Regions from separate parts of the Homo sapiens genome. Here regions 1 and 3 are each linked to region 2. The links are contacts of gene promoters, found by promoter capture Hi-C in human tissues and cell types (Jung and others, 2019). All regions are on one chromosome and are shown on one strand. Each heading gives the region's core, a stretch centred on a gene start or on the middle of the fragment in contact. The rest is flanking DNA. Distances are from core to core; before and after follow the strand shown.

The links. Contacts are between HindIII fragments. The study calls those that stand out against the background at their distance.
Region 1: a contact is called between a fragment that was not itself captured here and the fragment with the promoter of CRYBB1 in region 2, in 1 of the 25 tissues and cell types used here (lymphoblastoid cells).
Region 3: a fragment that was not itself captured here is called in contact with the fragment with the promoter of CRYBB1 in region 2 in 1 of the 25 tissues and cell types used here (lymphoblastoid cells).

What each region holds. Positions count from the first base shown.
Region 1 is chr22:27,870,259-27,874,390 of GRCh38, reverse strand. It overlaps PITPNB (phosphatidylinositol transfer protein beta), which reads left to right. Exons shown (of 12, transcript NM_012399.5): 8 at 576-653. Among named protein-coding and RNA genes, the nearest start is that of PITPNB, 47 kb to the left of the region's middle. The HindIII fragment of the contact is 6,796 bases long and covers 1-4,132 here.
Region 2 is chr22:26,616,268-26,620,420 of GRCh38, reverse strand. It overlaps CRYBB1 (crystallin beta B1), which reads left to right and starts at 2,394. Exons shown (of 6, transcript NM_001887.4): 1 at 2,394-2,444; 2 at 4,083-4,153. The coding sequence starts at 4,102. It also overlaps a transcript of CRYBA4 not described here. RefSeq lists enhancers at 1,309-1,984, 2,663-3,340. The HindIII fragment of the contact is 18,434 bases long and covers 1-4,153 here.
Region 3 is chr22:27,895,364-27,899,039 of GRCh38, reverse strand. It overlaps PITPNB (phosphatidylinositol transfer protein beta), which reads left to right. Exons shown (of 12, transcript NM_012399.5): 4 at 1,148-1,239; 5 at 1,903-1,910; 6 at 2,414-2,488. Among named protein-coding and RNA genes, the nearest start is that of PITPNB, 22 kb to the left of the region's middle. RefSeq lists an enhancer at 3,064-3,113. The HindIII fragment of the contact is 4,356 bases long and covers 1-3,572 here.

The DNA.
Region 1 (4,132 bases), core at 1,539-4,038, 1.3 Mb before region 2:
AGGAAGACAAGCCATGTGTATCCCAGGGCTCTCGAACAAGGGTTTGGAGAAGCCAGTCAAGAAACTGAGATGTCCACCACAGACCCAGCTGTAGGAAGAGGTTGGGGGTGCTGCAGAATCGATAGTTCTGATTTTGTTCCCAGCCACAGTAGTTGCTCTGGCCAGCATTAACAGTCCAGTGTCATCATCTACCTGTAGTGTCAAAACTGGGATGGGTATGTTTTATTCTTTGAATGTGATTATCCATATATCAAAATGCTTAAATTATTTAAAAAACTGTTGAAAGATTTGTTATTGGAGACAGCTGTCCAGTAACCAGTCAGAATGGATTGCTAGTCCAGGACTTTTATTATTTCTTATTATGTAGTTATTTAGCCCAAGGTAAAAGTTTAAAGCAAAGGAAACCAAACTGAAAACAGTGTCTTAAAGAAGCATTTTTCTACTTTTACGCAAAAGCACAGTGAGTCTAATTGATTTCTGTCCTGTGTTTTGGTAGCTGCGAAGAGCTATTCTGGCACGGTTAAAGAATATTCTCTGGTTTTCTTCTCTGCCTCTGACTTTGTTTTGCTTTGCAGGACTACAAAGCTGATGAAGACCCAGCATTATTCCAGTCAGTCAAGACCAAGAGAGGCCCTTTGGGACCCAACTGGAAGGTACTGGATGCTGACCTTTCTGACAGGCAGAGTCTTGGCAACAGAACACTTGACAGGTCCTGAGTCTTGAAGAGCTGGTGACGTTTAAGTGAAAAATAGAAATGGCACAAAAATAGTTTTATTTGCGATAAGGACTTACAGCCAGTTGCAGTTGGCCAGCAAATCTGTGCTGCATTAACAAACAGAACAGAGCCAGACTGTCACTTTCAGCATAATGCAGCTCCAATAACTCTTAAAAGAGACAAGTGATTTAGTCTTTGGGGATTCTAATGTTCTCTTTTGAGACCTGAAGCAGTATAAAAATCCATTTTAAATGAAGGTTTATAGTTTAAATTTAGTCTTATTAAAAACTGAACAAGCTCCCTTCACCCAAGCTCATATTCCTGGACTTTTAATAGTTATATTTTTGGAAAGCAGGACACGAGTGAGCAATTTTTGTGGCAAGCAGTTTTTGTTTTTGTTTTGTTTTTGAGACAGAGTTTCACTCTTGTTGCCCAGGCTGGGGTGCAGTGGTGCAATCTGGGCTCACTGCAGCCTCTGCCTCCTGGGTTGAAGTGATTGTCCTGCCTCAGCCTCCCGGGTAACTGGGATTACAGGCATGCGCCACCATGCCTGGCTAATTTTGTATTTTTAGTGGAGACGGGGTTTCTCCATGTTGGTCAGGCTGGTCTCGAACTCCCGACCTCAGGTGATCCACCCGCCCTGGCCTCCCAAAGTGTTGGGATTACAGGCATGAGCCACTGCGCCCAGCCAGTAGTTGTTTTTAAATAAAGTGCACACCCTTACTTTATTCATGGAAGTAAGGTAATGTCAAGGTAATAATTTAAATTGCTATAGAAATATAATGCATTTTAAAGACATCTACTAAACTAAATGACAGATCCTTAAAGAAGTCTTAATGTGTTATTGGCAAGTTACTACAGCTAATTTGACAAGAGAAGAGCATAAAAACTTAAACATGCCCAGAGCAGATTTTCCACTCCCAGGGTCTTACTTGGTAACCAGTCTGTCTGTGCTGAAGCCAGTTACAGGTCATCGATAAGTGATGTCTAGGTACTAGTTGCATGCAGATAAGAGGATTACTGTTACAGCCCCACAGAGAACTCATTGAGTGGTTCTCCCTGGGTGTTAGACTGTTTTGTGGACTGTCTTGTGCATCAACTAAAAGGAAAAATGAATTTGACTTTGGTTTATAAGAAATGATTCATAACTATATTATTTTCACATTTGTTCTCTGGGTAGAGTTTAGTTCAGAATTCTCCCAGTTTTAATACTTAGCATGTTAGGCCAATCTTGCATTATTACAAAGAACCTGAGAATGGGTATTATATATAAAGAGGCTTGGGCCAGGTGCAGTGGCTCACGCCTGTAATCCCAGTACTTTGGGAGGCTGAGGTGGGTGGATCACTTGAGGTCAGGAGTTCAATACCAGCCTGGGCAACATGTTGAAACCCCATCTCTACTAAAAATCCAAAAATTAGCTGGGCACGATGGTGCTTGCGTGTAATCCCAGCTACTCAGGAGGCTGAGGCAGGAGAATCACTTGAACCCGGGAGGTAGAGGTTGCAGTGAGCTAAGATTGCACCATTGCACTCCAACCTGGGCGACAGAGTGAGACTCCGTCCCAAAAAAAAAAAAAAAAAAAAAAAAAAAAAACCAGGCTTAATTGGCTCACGGTTCTGCACACTGTATAGGAAGCATAGTGCTGGTATCTGCTTTTGGGGAGGCTTCAGAAAGCTTACAGTCATGGTAGGCAAAGGAGAAGCAGGCGTCTCACATGGTGGAAGTGGGGCAGGGGAAGTGTGCCATGCACTTTTATACAGCCAGATCTCGTGTGAACTCAGAGTGAGAGCTCACTTATCACCAAGGGGATGGCCCAAGCTATTCATGAAGGATCTGCAGTCATGATGCAAACACCTGTTAGAGGCTTTACCTCTAACATTAGGGATTGCATTTCAACATTGGGGATTACATTTCAGCATGAGATTTGAGCAGGGACAAATTCCCAATCTATATTACCCAGAAAGTGATATATACCACTTATAAATTAACAAATTCAGCCTGCTTGATGTAAATTTGCTTTAATGGATTTAGTGTCCCCAGCCTTTTCCAGATTTCTAGCTTCAGACTTTAGAACTCAATCTTAGTTGGAGGAGAAGCCCTTTGAGATTTCACACTGGTCTTCTAAACAAGGACACCATGCCAGAGAGCAGCCCAGATGGTGGCTACCTCCACTGGTGCTGTAACTTCTAAAAAAGTACATCTTGTTCCAGTGAGTAGTAGCTCTAGCTGACAATACTTTTACAGGGAGTAAAGGGGCATGAGGTTGAGACCCAGAGGTGAATTAAATATTGTATTTTCTTGAAATTATTAGCTTTTCAAGTATAAACATTAAAAGACAATGCTACATTATGTGGTGGGCTTTATGTTTGGGCTCAGATCCTTCCTATAGGAACTCCTGATTTTATAACAGGCAGCAAAAGTAGTTTGATACTATGACTTGTACTGATTTCTAACTTTTTAGGAACTTGGAATATATACCATGTCTGGCCTGATTTGTAACTGATATTGCTTTGTCTTTTATTATTGACTAATGATTGAAATTCTAGAATAGGTTTAGTTCTTAGAAATAATGTGAATTTTGTATTTCTGCAGATTGCAGAACTGCAGTTTTTTTCCATTTTCCCCCCTGTGTTAAACAGTAACTTATTAGGCTGATAGGGTGCTGGTTGTTTCTGCCCATTTGCCTGTTGATTGTTCATTTTATCCAGATGATGGTGTATCCAGCTACTCTTATAAATTCAGCTACTGCCTGACTGAATTTCTGTGAATTACTGTGATCTCAGAAATAACTAGTGCAGTCAAGAATAACTGATAATAATTAAGCCATCCACTTGCTGCTGTGGAGGGAAATAAAGCGTAAGAAGATAGCTGATAATATGGCATACAGGAAAATAGGAACCTTTGGACTTGATCTTACCAGTGTCTTCTGTAAACATGTTCAGCAGGCCCTCTTTGCCAATTACTGTCCTGGTGGAGGCACTGAGGGTAGCACTGGGGAACGATAATAGTTGGAAATTTTTATACTTCTGAAATGCAAGGAAGAAATAGGGAACAAACATGATAATTATGGCTGAAAGGAAGAAGAAATCTTATTGTGGACCCACTTAACCAGGGTAGTGTTGAAGAATGTTCTTATAGAAGAGCTGCCTGGTAGTTCCACAGTCTCTCTCTCAAAAGGCCTCTGTGAACCATCCCACACATACCCTTCAGCAGAAACCTGCCTTACCAGTACAGATTCCAAAGTCTATTCAAAGCTAAATGCAAATCCTATGATTTCTTTGAAACTTTTCCTTACTTGTCTGATGGTGGTATTTTCCCTCTGAATTATTGCAGTATTTACTTCCTGTCTGCACCAGACTGACTAGGGGTAAAGAAACTTTTCCTTGGTACCAGGTACTATACAAGGTTACATTTAA
Region 2 (4,153 bases), core at 1,145-3,644:
GCCTCAGTTTACTTGTGTGTAAAATGGGTGTAACAAGGTAAGTTGGGATTAGTCTAAGAAACAGGGGGATTGTGAGGATAAATGTGAATAGCACATGAACAGCAGCTGGAATTGCTCCTGCAACATAAAAAATATTGTGGTATTTCCATCATCTTCATCATCACCATTGCTAATAAGAAAGATGATTATTATTAATTGTTGATCAAAAAGCAGGGGTGCATAGTTTTTAAGAGCCTGGGTTCATGAGTAAAGAAGATGTGAGTTCCAATTTTATCTTACATTTCCATTTTTATGAGAAAGTGGCTGAGAGAGAGGAAGGAAAGGGAGTTGCTTCAGTTTCCTTATCCGTAATTGGGGTTAATCCCAGAGACTTCATCCTTATACTGAGGAGTACAGGACAATGCAAAAAAAAAAAAAGAAAAGAAAAAAAGAAAAGAAAATAAATTGGCTCCATAAGACAGGGCAAAAAAGAAAAAGATATAATGAAGGATACAATAATAATAATAAATGCTCAGAGTGGAGCCACCAACATGGTGGGCCATCCCCCTTCTCTGCCCCCACCCTCTGGCAGACAGCCCATTCCTGGGGCTTTAGGGGGGGCACGGAACTGCCCCAGATGACCTGGCTTTGAAGCCTAGACTGGTGGGTGGGCCCTCACCACAGGCGTCTTGGCCCCAGTTCCAGTGGCTACCCCATCTTGCAGTTCCTGCCCACACCCCACCCACCAAGTCTTGGCCCAGGATGAAAGGCCAAGGAGAGGCTAGGAAGCGAGGGGGTGCTGGGTGGTGGAGGGACAGAGGCAAAGCTGGCTCCAGGCCAGGGAGAGTTCAAGACAGAGCTGGGCTCCACGGGGAGCCTAGAACCCCGAAAAAGAAGAGACAGGAGCCTATCCAGATGCCCCCGCAATATACCCTGCCTGGGACTGGGGAGCCGACTGCAGGTGACCTAGCTGAGCAGCTCCCCAGGCTCCTTCTGACCCCAGCTGTACTGTGAGTTCCCGCCATGTGACTATGTTGAAGTCATTTGTTCCACCTGGGCCTCGGTTTCTCCATTTGTGAAATGGGAGGATTGGGCCCTGTGATTTCTGGCGTCTGTTCCTCCGTCCTGAGGCTTGATCACCCCAACTTGACCTCTGTCTCTCCGTCTCTCGCTCCTTCACTGTCCATGTCCCCTGTGCCTCTCTGTGTCTCTGTCTCCACCTCTCTCTTTGTCTGTTACTTCTATCTGCCTCCTTACTTCTCTCTCCTTGCCTTGGTTTCCCTATCTCCTCCGTACCCTACCTTCTGTTCCGATCCATTGGAACCACCATTGAGTCACCAGTTATTGACTGAGAACCCATGATGTGCCAAGCTCTACCTAGCCAGGCCCAGCTAGGTGCTGGGGCCAGTGGTGAACAAGATGTGGTGGGCATCTGGGGCTTGCCAGGGCAGGAGGCTCTGGGACAGGCAGTCATATTTCTGGCCACCAGCACTGTCCTCCAGGTCAGATAACGTGGCCTGGGTAGAGGCGGGGAACTGGGGTGGCGAGAGGGATCACTGTCGATAGGTCAGGAAAGGATGGGGCCCAATGTGGGGAAAAGAAAAAGACCCAGGTCTCCGATATCCAACCCAGCTGAGCACAGTGCGACTCTCCCATTCCCACCCCAACCTACAAAGAGGAAGTCAGGCCAGGGGGCCTCAGGCCAAGGTCAAGGCTGGACAGCAGGAGAAGAAAGCACACAGGCCCAGAGCTGGCTGGCCTGGGCTGGCTCTGACCTCTCTGTGCCTTCACTTTCCTCTTCTGTGAAATGGGCATAATGAAAGTACCAAATAAGGCAGATTGTCCCGGGGACTGACCGAGATAACACGGGTTCGGCACACAGTAAGCACTCCGTAAAAAAGGCTGTCCATATCAAACCCACATCTGCCTTTACAAAACGCTTCTGTGCTCATTGTCACCTTCTTTTCTATATGGCATCCAACAGGGACACGTGCCCACCTTATAATTGCAGACACAGAGGCCCCCCTAGGGGTAGAGACCTACCAAAAGCCACACAGCGCGCAGTGGCTGAGTCAGGATTCAAACTCTGGTCTCCTGCCTCCCAGGGTCTCCCCTTTTCCCTGCCCCATGTTGGCAGCCAGCAGGGACCCTTTTGGGGGCCCATCCCTGGCTGGGGTTGTTGAGAAAGGAGTCAGGGTAGGGTTGGAAGGTGAAGCTGCTGTGGCCAGGGTTTCTGCTGTGTGTGCTGGTCTCACAAAGGAAAGTGCTGCTGTCTGCAGTGATCCAGGCGAGGTCAGGGCCCCAGTCCCCCACTCCCTGCCCAGGCCTGCTGAGCCAGCTTCCCCTTTGTGCCACAGACTATAGGGCCTGATGTCTGCCAGACTATAAAATGGGGGGTCGGACTCTAGTCACCCATAGCACCTGCCCGCCTGCCTGTCCTCCAGCAGGAAGTAGCAAGTCCCCAGGTAAGAGGGAACCCACAGCCCAGCTGAGAGCTGAAGGGGAGGGGAAGAGAAAAGGGAGACAGAGAGAGGGAGGCAGAGATAGCAGTGCCATGAGAGTCAGAGAGCAGGGCCATGGAGATAAAGACGGAAGTGGAGAGAGGAAGAAAGGGAGGGAGAGGGAGAGGGGAGAGAGTGAGAAAAGACAGAAATAGAGAGAGAAGTAAATATAATTAAAAAGGACAGATAGAGAGATAAGCAAAGATACAATGAGGGAGAGATAGTGGGGGAGAGAGGAACAGAGAGGGAGAGAAACAGACAGGCAGATAGGCAGAAAGAGGGAGAGAAGTAAGAAACAGATAGAGAGGCAAAGACAGGGAAGAGAGGAGGAACAGAGGGAGAGGGTGAAGCAGGGAGAGAGAGAGAATGAGAATATCTCCAGGAAGGCATGAGTCCAGCTGCCAGCCCTGGGGGAGTGTTTAAAGCCACAGATGTGGTCCAGATGTCTGGCCTCACCCCTGGTGAACAGGGGGCACCCCAGAATATGCACAGCCTTCCTGGAGGAGGCTGGGGGAGGGATGTGCTTATCCCAACTAGCTCCGCCTTACAGAATGTGTTCGGGAATCAGCTTGACCAGAGGGTCTTAATCTGTGCTAGCAGGGGGTCCTCAAATCCCTTAACATTGTCTCCAAAGTTAAAGAGAGCATTATTTTTGTCCGGGGACAAAGTTGAGGTATTCATCAAACATTCAAAGGAGTCCACGACCCCAAAGCAACAAGGAACCACTGGAATTGACCAAAGCCCTCTCCACCCAAAGCCTACCCAGCCCCAGTCCTCATTTTCAGAACCCTCCACATGCAGTAAATACATCCTCTTGGGTCCTCCCATAAGCCTCAGTCCCCGGCCTGTATTTGCACCCATACACCAACCCCTCAGAGGAAGCAGACGGGGAAAGGAGCTGGGAGCATGCATTCATTCATTCTCTGAACAAATGTTAATTGGGCATCTCCTATGTGCCAGGTGCAGAGCAAGTGTTAGGGATGGACGGTGAATAAATCAGATTAAGCAAATGGCAGAATACTTTAAAAGCCCAGTTGCTGGCTCCATTTCCTTGAGTTGAAATCAGAGCCCTACCACTTAGTAGCTGTTTGGGCCTGAGCTGGGCCCCTTCCTTCTCCAGCCCCCTGCTGCTCAGAGGGGATCATGATAGCAGCTACTCCATCGGGTGAGGTTCATGGTCAGATGGGTTAATTAATGTATGTCACAGTGCCTGGCACACCTTAAGTACTCCCAAATGGGACTTCTTGTTATTAGTCTAGGGAGGCAAATTGGAGTTGCACAAGCAAATCAGTGTGATAAGCAGTGTGGAAAATTGCAGGGGGCTAAGGAAGGACCTAGCGGGGTAATGGAGGGTGGAACAGCTAGTGGAGGGAACCGCATGGTCAAAAGCCTGGAGGAAGGATATATGTGGGATGAGTGGCCCCCAGACGGGAAGGTCTTGGCTGGGAAGTAGGGATGAAAGAAAAACTTCCAGGCTTAACCGTTTCAGAAGGAGATAGAGAGGAAACGAGCTCCAAGGAGGCTGAAAGCACAGGATGTGGGGCTATGAGGGCAGGAGGCAGTTTGGGGGTGTCATCCCTGAAGGCCAGAGTTTCTTTACAGACTTTTGCAGGCGGGAACCATGTCTCAGGCTGCAAAGGCCTCGGCCTCGGCCACAGTGGCGGTGAACCCAG
Region 3 (3,676 bases), core at 145-2,644, 1.3 Mb before region 2:
AATGGTGATGTTGGGATTTGAATTCGATCTGTGTGAAAAGTCTGTGCAAGCAAAACTACTCTTTACAGTAGGCTCCAGTCACTATATCAGTCACTTCATTTGCATTTATTTGAAGACTGTTAAGACTGATTTTCCCATTTGTTTGTTAACAAATAACATTTTCTATTTGTAATGGGCCTGTGGATGACTTTTGCCCCTTTATATGTTGGGATTGTTTCTGATTATCATATGCTTGCACAAGCTTCTCATATATTAATCATGTATTGAACCTTTCTCTTCCTCTGAATATACTTAAGGCAGCAAGTGACATTCATCTCCCATACCTACAAAATTTTATACTTGGATATGCTTTAATTTCTCATTTTCTGCATGGGTCCTTTACATTGTCATTTTTCTTCAGGTCTGTTCTATAAAATGTATTCAGACTTTTATTCAGAGATATCTCCTTATTCTGGGGCTTTTTGCATTAAGAAACAGTATAATGTCATCTAACTCTTAAGAACTACATTGTATTAATGTGCAGATTGAATAGCTGTTAACTCTTAGGTTTTACATTGGGGTAGTAGATCAGAAGTTCTTAAGAAATAATTGCTTCTATTTAAAAAAAAAAAAACCACACACACACACACAAAACCTTTTATACAGTTAATTTTTTTTTTCCTTGTGAGACAAGGTCTTGCTCTTTTGCCCAGGCTAGAGTGCAGTGGTGTGATCTCAGCTTGCTGCAACCTCTATCTCCCAGGTTCAAGTGATCCTCCCACCTGAGCCTCCTGAATAGTTGGGGCTACAGGCATGTGCCACCATGCCTGGCTAGTTTTATATTTTTTGTAGAGACAGGGTTTCACCATGTTGTCCAGGCTAGTCTCAAACTCCTGGGCTCAAGTGATCCTCCTGCCTCAGCCTCTCAAAATGCTAGGATTACAGGCATGAGCCACCATACCCAGCTAAATATTCTTAATCATTTTTATTTAAAATGTAAAAAATTATGTGTTCATTTCTACTGGATTACTTTAGGATTGAAATAAACTAGTTCATCAGACTTAGAACCTGGTCACCTTTGATTGCCATACTCTTTCAAGCAGTTGGATAGATACCAAGAAAGAATTGATGGTGCTGTTAAATATATCCAGTATCTCTCTTCTCCCAGCAAAGTGCCTGCATTCGTGAGGATGATTGCTCCCGAGGGCTCCTTGGTGTTTCATGAGAAAGCCTGGAATGCGTACCCCTACTGTAGAACAAGTAAGCTTGGCCCCCAGCAGCCATTGCACCCCTCCACCCTGAGAATGAGAGGGATTCCCAGTACCAGTGTCTTTGAGAAGGTTTACACTGAGCAAGGTCTTCCTTGGGTTCTTGGATAGTCACTGCTAGAATGATGGCAGAGGAAGGGCTGCATTGGGTTCCTCCCCCTAGAACTTTGTGACAGGCATAAGTTCATTCCCACATGGCAGCCACTTTGGGGTCCTAGCTGACTATGCTGGCTCCAGGGGTAAGCCAAAAGAAAGGTCGTTTACACTCAGAAGGGTGTTTTGGTGTGTTTCAACAGTATTTTACTTAAATTGCTACATAATAGAGGAGGAATAGGACAGACTTCTGAAACAGCATCCTATCATTTGCTAAATTGACCTTATAAATAATGTTTTGCTTTTGTGACATTATTATTCTTTTTAGCATTATTTTTAAAATTAGATTATTGTTCATATTTTATTTGTACTCCATAATCTAATGTACTGTATAGTGTCACTTGTGTGGAAACTGTTTTGCAGACATAAATTACTAAATAAATGTTCTGTTTTCAGATAGTTTAGTCTTTGTGACATTAAGTATTGGGACAGATTGTTTTGACTCCAATTAATATTCTGAAATTTTTCTCCTTTCATTACCTACCTCTCCATTATGCCTCAGTTGTAACGGTGAGTAAAACTATTTTTGTGTCTCATACTTTCTTTATCTTTAAACTTTGTTTTACACAGTAATTATTTTCAACCATTCTTTGCTAACTGCACCTCGCTGCATGGTTCCTTCCTGTGTCCCACCAACCAGCCGCCACACTCTACCACATGTTCCCAGTGTTCATGGGCCCTTTCCACCCTTGTCTCAAAATCTCCCTATTGATTTTATTTTGCTTTTGTTACTCCCTTCAAACGCCATATTTGTTTATCAGACCTCACAGCTTCTTTATTAGCCCGATATGCCACGTGGCAAGTAGAATTGTTTAAATTATTTAAAAGCATGTAGCATTTGGTTTGCCTGACAAGTCTATAAAAATCGGTAGCCAATGATTCTTTGTCACTTGAGTATCAGTCTCCTTGTAGAGTCAAAGCATGGATGCCTATACTGGGAAAAGCTCCCTCAGACGTGGGCACCAAGGAACAGGTAGAAGATCACTGTCATTTTCCTGTTGTGTTTTCTGCAGAATGAATATATGAAAGATGATTTCTTCATTAAAATCGAAACATGGCACAAACCAGACTTGGGAACATTAGAAAATGTAAGTTTCAACTCTGCACTTTTAGTACAAAAGTCCCTGGAAACGAGAATTCTATATGTAGTTCACTTTGTCATCATCAAAGTAATGTCACCTGTGTATCTGACCGCACCAAGCTGTGTCAAATTGAGATGAGGCGGGCAAGCAGCCAGAAACCAAATAGGCTTTCCCTATCAGTCCGCTTGCCTTGACACTTTGGTAAAGTTGCTGTTTTGATCAGCAACTCTCTTTATCCGAGACAAGGAGAGCATGAATAAACAAAATTCACAGATAATCCCCAGCCCAATTTTAGCCATTAGTTTTGCTAATTAGATTGCTTTTATATCTGAGTGTTTGTCAGAGCTGCTCTGCATAGCAGGATTGATTGCTTTAATTTTTACCTCTTGTCTGCTTTGCAAGGGTATGGGCTCATGTTAGAGAAATGGCCAAAAGGCAGGAGGGATAAAGTACTTGAATAACTTACAAAAATGTTGAAAAGCTGTTGACTTATATAAGTTGGTTCACATTTATCTCTTTAAGATTCAAGAACATCTTTGAGTTAGGACTTAAAAAAATGTAATCATTAACTTTTGGTAAGGTTTGTCGTGGAACTTGGGAAGTCCTGTTGTATAGGTTGATGCCCTTGGTCTAGGAGTTCTCAAAAGTGTGGTCTTTGGATGGGCCAGCAGCAGCACAGTATCTGAGGACTTGTTTGAAATGCAAATACTCTGACCTCACCCAAGAACTACCGAACCAGAATCTCTAGGGGTGGGACTCAGCAGTTTCTGTTTTCTGATGCACATTCATTCCAGGAGAGTAGGTTAATGATTGTGGCAAATTCTGTTTTTACTGTTCTATTACGGTGCTCTTACGTTATTGATGCCAGTTAATAGAACTTTGAATTTTAATATGTAGTATTTTACTTGAGTTTTCTTTCAAGTGATCATTTGACATTTTATGTTGTTTTTCTTTTTGTTTTTTTTTTTGAGACAGAGTCTTACTTTGTTGCCCAGGCTGGGGTGCAATCACGTGCTGTCTGCTCAGTGCAACCTCTGCCTCCTGGGTTCAAGCAATTCTCCTGCCTCAGCCTCCCAAGTAGCTGGGACTGCAGGCATGCACCACCATGCCTGGCTAACTTTTGTATTTTCAGTAGAGATGGAGTTTCACCATGTTGGCCAGGCTGGTCTTGAACTCCTGACCTCAGGTAATCTG